Regions from separate parts of the Homo sapiens genome. Here regions 2 and 3 are each linked to region 1. The links are contacts of gene promoters, found by promoter capture Hi-C in blood cells and fetal thymus (Javierre and others, 2016). All regions are on one chromosome and are shown on one strand. The core of a region is centred on a gene start or on the middle of the fragment in contact, and the rest is flanking DNA. Distances in the headings are between cores, read along the strand shown.

Region 1 (4,796 bases), core at 660-3,159:
ACACTCTGCTATACACCTGACCTTTCTGAAACACCTAACTTATCATACATCCCCTCGTTTCAAATATTTTCTTCAACTCCCCAAAGCTCCAGAGATAAAGCCCCTAAATCCTTGGCATAGCACACAAAGCCTTGCAGTCTGTGCTCAAACCACGTTGGCTTCTGGGTCCTGGAAAATGCCATGCTCTCTCTCATCAACAGTACCTTTTCATGTGTTTTTCCCTCAGCTAGACGGCTCTTTCCCTCCCCTTTGCCTGATTAACCTTAAACTGTCTTCAGATATCAGCTCTATCATAACCTCCTCAAGAAGGCTTTCCCAACTTCACTGACAAGGCCAGATTATCTTACTTTATGCTTTCATAGAATATTAGCACATATATTAGTTTCACTTTATGTGATCATCTGAAATCTGTCTGCCTCCCTGTCTAGACCATGAACACAAGGAAGGCAGAGACCAAAAATGTTTGGGTTCACCAAGCTTTCCTTAGCACCCAGCACAATGTGTGGCACATGGTGAATTCTAATAATACATGTTCAATGAATTAAGTACCCCCTGGAATATTCACCAGACAAAACAACAACTACTGCTCATTAGTGACAAAACTCTACACCTTCACTGTCTGTGATGATGGAACTGTTCCATTATCTGCTCTGTCCAACATGGTAGCCACTAGCCTAGTGTGGCTGCTGAGCACTTGAAAACCGGTAAGAACAGACGCATGGAATTTTTCATTTAATTTATTTTTAACTCTTACTCAAAACTATAATAGTTTTCTCTTTAAGATGTAAAAAGCCACACGTGGCCAGTGGCTACTGTACTGAGCAGGGCAGGTCTTGCTCCTCGAAAAGCAGTAAGTTAAAAAAAGGGGGGTAAGGGCAGCAAATTAAATGGAGAGTTATTTTCAAAATGATCTTCGGGGGTCTACCATGAAATCGGCTTTCTCCATTGTGTATTATCTGTGCTTTGTAGTTTTGCAGACTGTTTGGAGCCGCATCACAAGCCTCCTGCATTCCAAGCCCCTCCTATCGGCTGGGGAACCCCTTTATTGCTACAAATGATGGTCCAGGGGAGGAAAACCCGCGGGGAGCCTCTCCAGACTAAGTGATCGCGCGGTGTACATTATCCACATTACTCCCTCAGGGGAGTCCTGCAATTCAGTCAAGCTCATCTGTTCACTGTCTCCCCAACAAGATGCTCCCCAGGCAACCACTCGCTCCGGTCCTACACCGCCTTTTCCCTCCTTCAAGGCTCGACACACCCGTGGTCCTCTCTCAGCGTTTCTCACGGGGAATGCAGGCTCCCCTGAACGTCTACGGGAGTTCAAAAGGCCCAGGACCCACCGAGGGGGAGGAAACGAGAAGTCTTTGCCACAAAGCCTGGGAGACGCGGAGCAGCCGGCCGGCACCTGGGCTGGAGTCTGGGCCGCCTACTAGCCTCAGCTGCGCGCGTTTTCTCCGTCAGGCGGCGTGACCTGCGGGCGGGCGGAGCGCTCGGGGCCCAGCCTCCACCCCCAACTCGCCGCGGCTCCACACCCCTCCCCGGCCCGCCTCACCTTCTCCAGGGAGGTCCGCTCGCCCTCCGAGTAGCGGTGCTGCGGGGGCGACAGCGGAGGCAAAATCCTGCCGGGGTGCGCCTGCAGCCAGGCCTTGGCCTCCTCGTCCTCCTCGTCGTCTATACTTTCCAGATGCTGGGGCCCGTAGTGAGAGTCGGAGTCCAACTCCCGCCCCGCCTCTTCCTCCACCTCCTCCACGACCACTACGTCGTCCACGTTCGCCGCCGCCGCCGCTGCAGCCTCCTCCTCTTCCTCCTCCTCCTCCTCCTCCTCCTCCTCCTCCTCCTCCAGCTCGCCCGGCCATGGCAGATCCTCGGGCTCCATGTTGGTGTCTCGCTCTGGGCGGCAGAGGAGGAGGAGGAGGGGGGGAGGGAGGGGAAGGGGAGAGCCCTGACTGGCGGTTGTGGCCCAGCTTAGGCGCAGTGCCGCCCGCCTGGGCGGGGCCGGAAGACCGCGCGCGCGTTGCTAGGGACGCCGCGCGAGGCCCGGCGGGAACGCCTTAGGGCGGAGGTTTGCTACAGGCGACGTTGCCGCCTCGCCGCCGTCACCGGCCGGGACCTTGCGAACTGTACTGTAAGCTCACAATAAACCGGGACTGGGCGCCTTCCGGGGCGCAGAGGGCCCCGCGCAAGGACAGTGTAGTTCTCGGCTGGGGTCGAGTTTCGCCCCTGCACAGAGAAGAGATCAAACTCTAGGACGTACCCGTTATAATCACACATGCAAATTATAAAGTTTTAAAGGTTGAGTATCTCCTAAAGTGTCAAGCTGTATGGTGGGCGCTTGAACCTAACCGTGGAAAAGTGTCACGGGTTGTTAGAGGGATTAAGAACTGGGCACTGGCATCAGAAAGATCGGAGTTTGAATCCTGGCATCACCACTTAAAGTGGTGTGACTTTGTGTTTATAAAACGATGATAATAGGCCATCGCATAGGATGGGTGTGATAATTAAAGGAAATAATCAATGTGAAGGACTTAGTGATAGGTTGGTTATTGTACAATAACTCATTAGATGCTCACGGTTCTGTGAGACAAGTATTACTATTTCATGTATGAAGAATCTGAGGCTAAAAAAATTAATTTGCCCAAAGTTTCTTACCTAGTAAGTGGCTGACTCAGTATGCCATCCCAGGTCCTCTGTTAGTGTAGGAATTGCCCTGGCCTAGACCAACCAGCTGTTAAAGGATAACAGAGCAAATATTTATACTGATAGTACATATGTTTTGGTGGTTCGTCAATGACTTTGGAGTGCTTTAAAAACAAAGATTTCCTGACCGCTTCAGGAACCTCTACGAAATGAATGGCAAATTAAAGTATCTTAAGATGCCATGTAACCAGACACCACCTGTACCCCCAATAACCTATGGGGAAAATTTTTAAATTAAAATTTTAAATAATAATTATAATCTTGAGATGCTTCACTGTTACCAAAGGAAATAGCCATAATTAAAGTGGAGTCCAGCAAAAAGTCTTCATGGTATTACCCACAATAGTAGAGATACATTGATAATGATGCTGAACCAATGTTGGTGGGGCAATTTTAGGGTTATTGCCAAGGATGTATGTCCTGCCTACCTGTCAATGACCCAATCCTGGCAAAACTTTAAGGGTAGAACATGAACTGGAGCCCAGTCTTGGAGTTCTGTTGAACACCTCTAAATGGACTATGAGTACATTAGGGTTATTTATTCTTAAGGGGTTTAGGGGTTCTCCTTGCCGGAGACCTATTACTGTAATAGTAGAAAAGAATTTATTAATTTTGTATTCCTGAATGTGAAATCTCAATGTTTATCTCCAGTAAGAGGACACACATTTCACTGATATTAAATAACTGTAAAGCTTTACCTTTTTAGAAACTCCGCTATCTTTTTGCATCCACAAATTTCAGGAAAGATAAAGAGAACTAATAGAATTCTAAAAAATAGCTTTCAAAGTTCTCTAACTTCCATCTAACTTCCAAAGCCCAAAGTACTTCTATTTGCCTTGATGGCAATAAGGTCAGTCCATTCTAAGGCCCATAAGTTATCTCCTTCTGAGTTAATAACAGGCTTCCTCATGTATTTGTGAATTACTTCCAATACTAGATGCTACTAATATAAGCTGTTATCACTAATTGCTGCAGGAGACTTCTAAGATTAACTCCTGCTTTATCAACAACAGATGGAAGCTGCATTCTCAAAGCACCCACCTAAGCAGCTTCTGAAGTTAGAGATTTGGTCTTCTGAAAAAGCATTAGAAAACAATTTCCCTTGAGCCTCAATGCAAGAAAAAAAAATGTCAGGTACTATCAACAACTGACCCAGGAGTAAAACTAGAAGACATTGATCCCTGGATTCATATTACACAACTAAAAAGACATGCATCATTTTCTCCTGGCTACCGGACATCCCATACTATTGGAAGACCTCAAACTGAAGATTCCTGGGACTTCCCCAGAAGCTGCTTACTGCAGAAATGGGCAGTTTATACCCAAGACAACAGGACAAGATTAATTTCTGATTCCTTGGCATCTCTTACCCTACCACTAATCTTGCTTATTGCATTTTGACACCCTTGATTAACTAACAAATTGATTTCTCGGGGAGATAACCCTTATCTTCATCCTGTTACTTTTGACTCCCTATGTTCTACTACTTAAAGTAAACATTATTTGGCCAGGTGCAGTGGGTCATACCTGTAATTCCAGCACTTTAGAAAGCCAAGGTGGGAAGATCACTTGAGACCAGGAGTCTAACTAACGTAGGCAATGTAGCAAGACCCCCATCTCTAAAAACAATAAAAAATTAGCTGGGCATGGTGGCACGTATCTGGAGTCCCAGCTACTCAGGAGGCTGAGGCAAGAGGGTCCTTGAAGCTCAGGAGTCCAAGACTGCAGTGAGCTGTGATCGTGCCAATGGGCAACAAAGTGAAACCCAATCTAAAAAAGAAAGAGAGAAAGGGAGAAGAGAGAAAGAGAAAGGAAAGGAAAGGAGGGGAAAGGGGAAAGGGAAAGAGAAAGGAAAGGGAAGGAAAAAAAGAAAAGAAAAGAGACACTTTCTGGAGTGTTTTTCTCAAACCGTAGCTACTGCTTTTAAGGAATTGTTGACAAAATTTAATAACTGTGCTTTCATAGACTTCATCAAGTAGATTTTCTTCTGTAGGTCACTTCTGGTACTTAAGCATTCCCCACAAAGTTCATCCCAAACCTCAGTCTTCTAAAAATTGGACCTTGACCTACACTTCAACAGAATGTTTCCCTGAAGTCAT
Region 2 (4,796 bases), core at 1,486-3,985, 2.3 Mb after region 1:
TTTTCCAAATGAGGAAACTGAGGCTTAGAGAAGGTGAGTAACCTACACAGGGTTACGCAGATACTGAGCAGCAAAGCTGGGATTCAAACCAAGGTCTCAGCAGCTCTCCAAAGCCCTGTGCTCTTCCAACACATTTGTAGTTTGTAGGTGGCAACTGAAGCCATGAGACTGGGTGAGATTATGACAGTTTTGACACCAGGGACTAAGTCTTGGAGGTCTTTCCCTCTGCAGTCATCAAACTCATCTAGTCCAAACTTGCTAGCTGTCTCAGTGTCACAGATGGCTGAATTCCCAGGCTCCGCCCCAGACTCACCAAGCTTCGCAGCGGTACCAGAGGATCCACCCCTGCTTTCCGTTTGGCCCTGTTCACCATCTCATTGATCCTCTCCACACACTTGTCTGTCCCGATCAGCTGGCCCCAATCAAGGGAAGAAGGAGTTACAAAGGCTTACAGAAGCTATGTTGCCCCCACAGGCTGCTCTGTGAGTCCCAGCCACCACCTCAACAGGAATTACAGAGAATAAAATCAGAACCAAGCCCTCTGATCCCCTCAGTGTGGTTTTTACCCAGTGGTTTGTGCTCAGTCCATCTGCTTCTGCCAGGATCTTCCCATCCTCTGAGACTAAAAGGACCTCGGATCGTGTGCCTCCCCTACAGAACACAAGAGGGCACTTGATCTTGCTCGGAAAAACCCACAGAGAGAGCTAAGCTTGTGCTGTCCACACTGGCAGAGCCCAGTATGATGGAGGAGACAGCTTCGACAAACTCAATCACCACTCCCAAACCCGCCTCTGTGGTTCAGTGTTTGAGTGCTCTTTAACTGAAACATAATTCTCACTCCTCTTCCCTTGGGGATGTCCTCCTTATCCTGCAAGACTCTACTTACGCTTCACCTAGTCCTCGAAACCTTTTCTGAGGTGTGGCCCACCCCAACGAATTAGTTAAGTCTCCGTTAGTTAAACCTTCATAGTGCCTCCAAAGTTATTAAAGTCTCCTCTGTATGAAGTGTGTGTTCAGACGCTTTGTGTCCGCCTCTCACTAGACTTCAAGCTCCACTGGGTCAAGCTCCTGATCACTTACTTACCCTCTCAGAACGAGCACAGGAGCTGGCACAGGCAATGCTCAGCAAACACTCCTAAGAAAAATGGCACATCTCTCTGCTTCCCTCACAATAGCTAAAGACTGCATTTCAAGATCCAGCTGCCAAGGTCTTCAAGACACCTTTGCTAGAAATGCTGACCAGATGGCAGGGTGACTTCATACATACTTAAGCAACTAAACCTTCAAATGTTGATTACTGGGGGTCACAGTAGTTCACAGGGAGATCTGTGGTGATGGGATATATGTTTCTTTATTGATCATTACTTTTAGGAATGGCAGAAGAAGACACTGAAGACCGCTCATCAAACTCAAAGAGGACATGAAATTTCAAGGGGGTAGTTAATACATGAGGTGGCAGATTCCACATCCAAAAGCATGTCTTGACGAACTGGAAGAAACGGGTCATATCTTACAGATGACTATAACAAGGATGAATGCAGACTCCTATACTGTTTTTTTTAAGTGCTACAAATACAGGATGGGAAAGATCATTCCTAACAATTCATGTGAAAAGACTTTGGGGTCTGTGAATCAGCAGTGGGGTGTGGCTGCCAGAGAAGTGAAAACAATCACAGATTCGAAAGTACAGTGCCCTGGCTGAGAGGCCAGCGACCCCCATTATTCCCTGATTTGACAAACTCAGATTCACAGAATGTTGCCACTGGCAGGGACATAGCGATCTTATTTATCCCTATCCTCACTTTGCACATACGGTAACTGTAGCCCAGGGAGGGTAAATATCTTGTCCATGGTCATACCCAGGGGCAGAGCTATTACAAAAAGTTCAGTAAACAAGCTTCTGAGCAGAAAAATGCAATCTAGTGAAAGCAGCATGGAAGGCCAACAGGGATGGAGCGGTTTTCAGACATCAGGACAACCTAGTACTCTGGCTCGCAGCTGCTCCAGCTCCCGGATAACCTCAGCCAAGATCTTTGTCCCGCTTCTCCCCACTCCCACTCCCCACCCTGCCCGCGCTCAGCAATTTCACACCTGACACCTGTTCTGCAAAACTCTGTCCGAGGTCAGGAATAGGAAAAAGGAGCTGCTTCTCCAGCTGAAGACAGCGGAGTGGGTGTTTCGTGGAAGAAAGGGGCGTGGTTCCGCCAAGAAACACAAAGGATCCCCAACCCGGGGTGTGGCTGTTGCACAGGCAGAGTCCCCGTAAGGCATACAGCTGTGCGCTCCAGGGCGCCCCTGCGCGTGCACACACCTCTTCACCGCAAGGTCCCGCCGCCCAAAGTGCCCGGACGCCGAGGATCAAGGCCACCAGCTTGCCAGGCTGGCCACGGCCTTCCGCCCCGCCTTCGGGCCCAGGCTCCCTCCGCCGGGCCGCACTCACCCCTCTACACCCCCATAGATCGCGGCCATGCTGCTGCTACCGTCGCTGCTGGTCCCGCCGTTTGCGTCTCTCCCCGCCTGACACCTCCTTCCCTCCAGCTGTCTGGGCACCGCCCCACTTCCCGTGACCTCCCGCGCAGCCAGCTGACTCCCTGTGCGCGTGCGCATGCGCGGGGCGGGGCGCCGGTAGGAGCCGGGGATGGCTGCGTCCCTCAGGCTGTCTTCCTTCTGGTGTCTCCTCCAGGTGGAGCGACTGCGGTCCGCAGCGGCCCCTCCCGTCCTCCTGGATCCTGCTTCCAGAGATGGACACTAATCCCAAGAGGAGGAATCAAAGAGGGGTATCTAGGTCGGTCGGACCCTTAGGACACATCACTGACCTGCCTGCCTGTAAACGCCCGGAAGTTGCTGGCAGTCCCGCGTTAGGTTGCGCGTGCGCACTGCTCTTGGCCGCGTAGGTTGTGACGCATGCTCGGCCAGACCCCCGCGAAGCTGTGGGCTCAGGGACCTGCGCCCATGGACCTGTAACAGAAATTACTGTAATGTTCTACTGAACATCTGCCACGCGATGGCGAGTCACACGGGCACACACGAACACTCGCTCAGATTGTTGCCCTGCGCTCGTGTGAATGTACGGATCCGGGAGGAATTGGGACCTAAACAGACAAGCCCTCGAGGCGGTCCCGGCAGCCCTGAGGAGGGAGCCTTCACCTCTTCCTACCCACCCAGTTTACTTCTTGTGGAGGATATTTGCAGGGACATAGCCCACTGGGAGAACTAGCAGATACGGCTTTACAAGTTTTTTATTGCCTTTCAGCCCCCATTCCGCTCCCCTTCCTTGCGCTGCGTCGGGAAAGGGAATGGGATCCCTAGGGGTGCAAATACAGGCCAAGTCAGGGAGAGCTGTGGCTCCTGAGGGCCTCCTCTGGCTCCTCCGGGAAGTTTTGGGCCCTCAAGGAGCAGCTTCGCGGGCCAGGAGGGCGGTTAGCTGCCCTTGGCATCTTTTTGGGGAAATCAGTTGGCCTGTCGCGGGTCGAACTCTGTCCCCCTTGACTGCCTGCCATCTTCTGGAGAAACCCCTAATAGGCTGCTGTGTCTGGTTATGCTTTAGTGAGAAAATTAGGCTTTTTAAGCTTTCTCATTTCCTACCCTACCACGTTGTAATTCACAAAAGTAAAAAGTAAATCACTACATGATAGACTCTGTATCATGTATTCATTTATAGAATATATATCATATATTCTATATCAGATGGAGAATATAATAGAGGGTAGGATTTTTTTATGCCTGCCTATGGCATTTTTTTAATTCACAGCACTTTAGAGCTGGAAGATTATCCAACATACACATTTTTAGAATTACAGTTAGTAGATTGTGGTGCAATTAAACTGGGCAGGATTTTTGGAGACTAGATTGTAGGTGGATTTTGAAATAATTGTTTCTGTCCTGTACTACTGCAATGAGCCATGGGACGTATGTGTATAAATATTAAGTTTGTCTTTGTATTGCTTGTTTAGGCAAGCAAGCAAAAGGGAAAGTGCCCAGGTTTAAGACAAGAATTGAGTTCACCATTTACTAGCTGGATGAGCTTGGGTGACTTACAGGTAATTGCTGCAGCCTCTCCTCTACAAAATGGAAATGATAAACATCTACCTGCTGGGGCTGACGCAAGATTTAAATGCCAAAAGAGTTTTGGAAACCATAAAGTACTTCACAGATCTTAACTAACTTGTATTTACATTACCAATTAGTGTGTGCTGTCCTGCACAGTATCCATATGTGAATACTGAGCACTTGAAATGTGGTTAGTCCAAAATGAGATGTCCCGTCAATGTAGAATACACACAGGATTTCAAAGACTTACTACAAAAAAAGAGTGTAAGATACCTCATTAGTCACTATTATATGAATCACATGTTGAAATAACATTCTGGATGTAGTAGATCAAGATTATAGATTACTAAATTTTGCCAATCTATTATATTTTTTAGTGTCACTACTAGAATATTTAAAATTTTGACCTACATATTTCTGTTGTACAACCCTGTTGTCTCTATCTGGACCATAATATTTCAAAGTCACTGAATGCCTATTTATGAAATAAATAATGGCCATATAATTGATTTAAAGAAGAAAGTAGCCGGGCGTGGTGGCTCATTCCTGTAATCCCAGCACTTTGGGAGGCCGAGGGGGTGGATCACCCAAGATCAGGAGTTCAAGACCAGCCTGGCCAACAGGGCGAGACCCTGTCTCTACTAAAAATACAAAAGTTAGTTGGGCGTGGTGACAGGCGCCTGTAATCCCAGCTACTTGGGAGGCTGAGGCAGGAGAATCACTTGAACCCAGGAGGTGGAGGTTGT
Region 3 (4,796 bases), core at 1,044-3,543, 2.2 Mb after region 1:
GCTGCTGATATGTGAGAGCAAAATGAAGCTCTAAATTTTGAAGAGTTTTTATTTTTAATTTCCAAGAATGCTTTTTTGTTCTCTGAATGTTCCTTTTTAAAAGCAGCATTTTATTCTTTTTTGGTGATACAGTATCTTATTTTTAAAGAATATTAAGGGTTTTTTTTCCATTTTCCTCTGCTTCTTGCATTATTTCTGTTACCACTGAGTTAATTTTTTTCTGTATATTTATTTTGATCTTTGTCATTTATGTTAGAGGCTTTCCTCAATTTTCTGGTAATCATTAGCTGTCTGTTTATATTAAAGAATGAGGCACTAGGCTGGGCACAGTGGCTCACACTTGTAATCCCAGGGCTTTGGAAGGCCAACGTGGCAGGATTGCTTGAGGCCAGGAGTTTAGGACCAGCCTGGGCAATATAACAAAACCCTATCTCTACAAAAAAAAAAAATAATAAATTATCAGGACATGGTGATGTACACCTGTATTCCCCATTACTTGGGAGACTGTGGAGGGAGGATCACTTGAGCCCAGGAGTTTGAGACTGCAGTGAGCTATGATGGTGTCACTCTACTTCCACCTAGGCAATAGAGTGAGACCCTGTCTCAAAAAAGAAAGAAAAAAAGAATGAGGTACTATAAAGATAACAGTGTGTAATGGGGCTTGTTGACTAGTTGGTCTCTCCACAGGGAATAAGGTGGGATCCAGAAATTTCTTGGGTACTTCTAAATGCCAGTATCTCTAGGTATTTTATCGTGGGTTAGTCAATGTCCCCATAGAAAGATTATTTGCCTAGTAGAATAAGCCTGGGTGCTTGGACTGATTAAGTCATAGATGAGTGGATGATGGTGCCCAGAAAGAAGTCTTGAAGTGTTCAAGTGGAAATTGCCCAGGGTTAGTGATCCTCAGTTGCAGAAGTCCTCCTGATTCTAGCATGAATGGATAATACAACTTTCTTGAGAGAGGAGTCAAAGACTCTTCTCTTTTTCACTTTCTTCTTGGGGTACCTGAAGATGTCTAGAAGAATCTTTTGGTTGGCTGTTGGTGTATCCACTGATTTCTTTATCTCCCAGCTTATCTCATTTTCTTCCAGGAACCTCTCTAGGTTGTGAGGGGAGACCAAAAACCAACTAGATATCCACTCCACTTTAAAGCTTTGTCTGGTTAAATAAAATGAACCTTATAAGAAATGCTTAGCTCTTTTGGGAAAAAGTGATCTGTCTCTGTAATAATCTCTCCATACCCAGCAGTGCTTCTTTCCCTAAGGTGGCTTTCAGGAGTATGGTAAGAGAGGGCTTATGAGATCTTATAGCTTTGAAAAATAAGCTCTCTAGTGCCAGATAGTATACTTGCACATTCAGAAATGTAGTCCCCAAGTATTAAAGGACACTATCAATATAGAGAAAGGGCAACTCACAGGATATTTGCAAATCATATATCTGATAAGGGATTAATGTCCAGAATATATTTCTTTAAACCCCTACAACTCAAAAAGAAAACAATCTGATTCAAAAATGGGCAAGGGACTTGAATAGACATTTCTCCAAAACAGAAGTACAAGTCGCCAATAAGCACAAAAAAAGATGCTCAACATAACTGATCATTAGGTAAAGGCAAACCAAACGGAGTGGTAGCTCATGCCTGTAATCCCAGCAGTTTGGGAGGCTGAGTTGGCAGGATCATTTGAGTCCAGGCACAAGACCACCCTAGGCAACAAAGTGAGACCCCATATCTACAACAAATTTAAAAATTAGCTGGGCATGGTGGCACGTGCCTGTAGTCCAGCTACTTGGCAGGCCAAGGTGGAAGGATTGCTTGAGCCCAAGAGTTGAGGCTGTAGTGAGCCATGATCACGCCACTGAACTCCAGCTCGGGTGAAAGAACAAGACCCTGTCTTGAAAAATAAATGAAATAAAATTGCATTCTGAGTTATGGGAAAAATAAAATAAAATGCAAACCAAAACCTGGATAAGGTACCATTTCACACTCATTAGGATGGCTATTATTTAAAAAAAAAAAAAAAAAAAACAGAAAAGAAACTACTGTTGGCAAGGATGTGTAGAAATTGGAAACTTCGTACATTGTTGGCGGGAATGCAAAATGGTGCAGCCACTGTGGAAAACAGTACGGTGGTTCCTCAAAAAATTAAACATAGAGTTACTATATGGCCTAACAATTCTACTTCAGAATATATACCCAAAATAATTGAAAGCAGGCCCTTGAACAGATATTTGCATACCAACATTATTCACAATAGGCAAAAGATAGAAACAACCCAAATGTCCATCAATGGATGAATTGATAAACAAAATAGGACATATACCTATAATGATGCTACTCAGCCTTAAAAAGAAAAGAAATTCTGATACTTAAACGTGGGAGACATAAAGCCAAACACAGAAGGACAAATATTACATAATTTCACTTACACGTGATACCTAGAGCAGTCAAATTCACAGATACAGAAAACAGAATGGTGATTTCCAGGGGCTGGGGTAAGGGGAGAATGGGGAGTTAGTGTTTAATGGGTACAGAATTTTTGTTAGGAATGATGAAAATGTTCTGCAGGTGGATTGTGGTGATGATTGCACAAAAATGTGAATGTACTTACTGTAACTGAACTGTACACTTAAAATAGTTAAGATGGTAAATTTTATATATATTTTACCACAATTAAATTTTAAAAAATGAAATGATGTAATCTTCAAGGTTGAAGATTTATTGCCCTAATAGCAATAGGATGTGGGGAAGGGTGATGGGCTTCTCTTGCCTCCCTCCCTCTCATTGACATCATCTCCTACAACTTTATGACTGGTTTTTGTCTCATATCTGTCCCTGCCCACCACCACCAGATACCCACATTGCTACCTCATTCCTTCATTGTCTTTTGGCTTCCATAGTTTCTGATAAGAAATTTGCTGTAATTCTTATCTATTTTTTCCCCTCTGTATGTTTCCCAGCCCCTTCCTGCTCTTCACTTCTTCACATCTCTGTTCAATGGTCTTTCCTCAAACAGCTCTTAAACTAACCATTCTACTTAAAATGGCCATATTTTTTTTCTGCCTGCTTTTAAGACTTTTCTCTTTATCACTGGTAATAGCCAGCCATGAATTTATAATAGATGGCACCAGTGGTAGGAAGTGAGACGAGAGAAGTTCATCAACCCTTCCTTACATCCCATTGCTATCCTGGTAATAAAGGTTCATCCTCAAGGAGTATTTCTGACTGCTCAAGGACACCACGTGGACCAGAAGAGCCTGTTTTTCAAACCTATGAGATTGTGTAAACTTTCTCTCATCATACACCGGAAGGCCAATTCAGGGAAAGAAGCAGTGGAGGGTATGGGGATGCTATCCTAGAGAGAGATTTTTTTTTTTCTAAAAGACACATGTTTCTTGCAGGCGTCATTTAAATTATGTAATCAAATAAAGCTTTAAACCAGAGTTGGCAGCCCTAAATGGATGTACACCTAATACACAACTTCAAAATACATGGAGCAATGTGAATAGTGATCCTGGAGTTGTGCACTGTAGTGGCTCTGCTTATTAGCCCCTTCCCACTCTTCACTTCTTCACATTATTCACATCTCTGTTCAGTGCTGTTTCCTCAAACAGCTCTTAAACTAACCATCCTACTTAAAATAGCCATTTCCCCAACCATCCCATGACTCTGCTTTATTTTCCTTTGTAGCATTTATTCACAACATACCATTTTATTATTTATTGGTTACTTTTCTGTTGTCAGTCTCCTTCACTACAGTATAAACACCATGGGTGCATCTTCACTGTCTTATTCATATCATATACCCAGTTCCATGATCAGAGCCTAGAACATTCATAGTAGATGCTAAATAATACTTGTTGAATGAATTTATTTATTTACTTATATCATTTAATATGAAGTATGTATTAGTCCATTCTCACATTGCTATAAAGAACTACCTGAGACTGAGTAATTTATAAAGAAAAGAGGTTTAATTGACTCACCGTTCCTCAGGCTGTACAGGAGGCATGGCTGGTGAGGCCTCAGGAAACTTACAATCAGGGCAAAGGGGAAGCAAGCACGTTTTCACATGGTAGCAAGAGGGAGAGAGAGCTAAGGGGGAAGGACACACACTTTTTTTACCATCAGACCTTGTGAGAACTCACTCACTATCACGAGAACAGCAAGGGGGAAATCTGCCCCCATGATCCAATCGCCTCCCACCAAGTCCCTCCCCCAACATTGGGAATTATAATTCAAAATGAGATTTGGGTGGGGACACAGAGCCAAACCATATCAAAGTATACAGCTAATATTTATAATTGTTATTTGAGTTTATCTTTTTCATTTTTATATTTTTTCCATTCATTCTGCAATTCCCTAACTTTGTGTCATGTATACAGTCAGCTTGAGAGGTGGGGGGGAGAGAAAAATGTATAAAGTAAGAGCTCCACAAAGAAATCCCTACTTCCTGTGGAATACAATTCGAAGTCCTTTGCAAGCAGATTGGACATTCTAAATCCAAGGGAGGCAATAAAGTTTTATTTTAATTTGTATTTATTGATGTATTTTTTTTTGAGTCGCAACCTCACTCTATTGCCCAGATTGGAGTGCAGTGGTGCGATCTTGGCTCACTGCAACCTCTGCCTCCCGGGTTCAAGTGATTCTCCTGCCTCAGCCTCCCGAGTAGCTGGGACTACAGGAGCCCGCCACCACGCCCAGCTAATTTTTGCATTTTTAGTAGAGACGGGGTTTCACCATACTGGCGAGGCTGGTCTAGAACTCCTGACCTTGTGATCCGCCCGTCTCGGCCTCC

Evidence for each region. Contacts are between HindIII fragments. The CHiCAGO score rates a contact against its expected background, and 5 or more counts as called.
Region 2: a fragment that was not itself captured here is called in contact with the fragment with the promoter of ALMS1 in region 1 in 1 of 17 cell types (fetal thymus); the score reaches 6.3 in fetal thymus.
Region 3: a fragment that was not itself captured here is called in contact with the fragment with the promoter of ALMS1 in region 1 in 2 of 17 cell types (total CD8 T cells and non-activated CD4 T cells); the score reaches 7.2 in total CD8 T cells.

Annotation. Positions count from the first base shown.
Region 1 is chr2:73,382,949-73,387,744 of GRCh38, reverse strand. It overlaps ALMS1 (ALMS1 centrosome and basal body associated protein), which reads right to left and starts at 1,909. Exons shown (of 23, transcript NM_001378454.1): 1 at 1,553-1,909. The coding sequence starts at 1,876. LOC105374804 (a long non-coding RNA gene) reads left to right here and starts at 2,064. Exons shown (of 4, transcript XR_007087053.1): 1 at 2,064-2,292. RefSeq lists enhancers at 1,121-1,360, 1,401-2,150 and silencers at 1,421-1,590, 1,751-2,150. The HindIII fragment of the contact is 2,912 bases long and covers 480-3,391 here.
Region 2 is chr2:71,066,357-71,071,152 of GRCh38, reverse strand. NAGK (N-acetylglucosamine kinase) reads right to left here and starts at 2,505. Exons shown (of 10, transcript NM_017567.6): 1 at 2,441-2,505; 2 at 567-651; 3 at 314-412. The coding sequence starts at 2,469. RefSeq lists a silencer at 2,220-2,279. The HindIII fragment of the contact is 1,672 bases long and covers 1,900-3,571 here.
Region 3 is chr2:71,227,816-71,232,611 of GRCh38, reverse strand. No RefSeq gene overlaps it. Among named protein-coding and RNA genes, the nearest start is that of PAIP2B, 3.1 kb to the right of the region's middle. The HindIII fragment of the contact is 2,277 bases long and covers 1,155-3,431 here.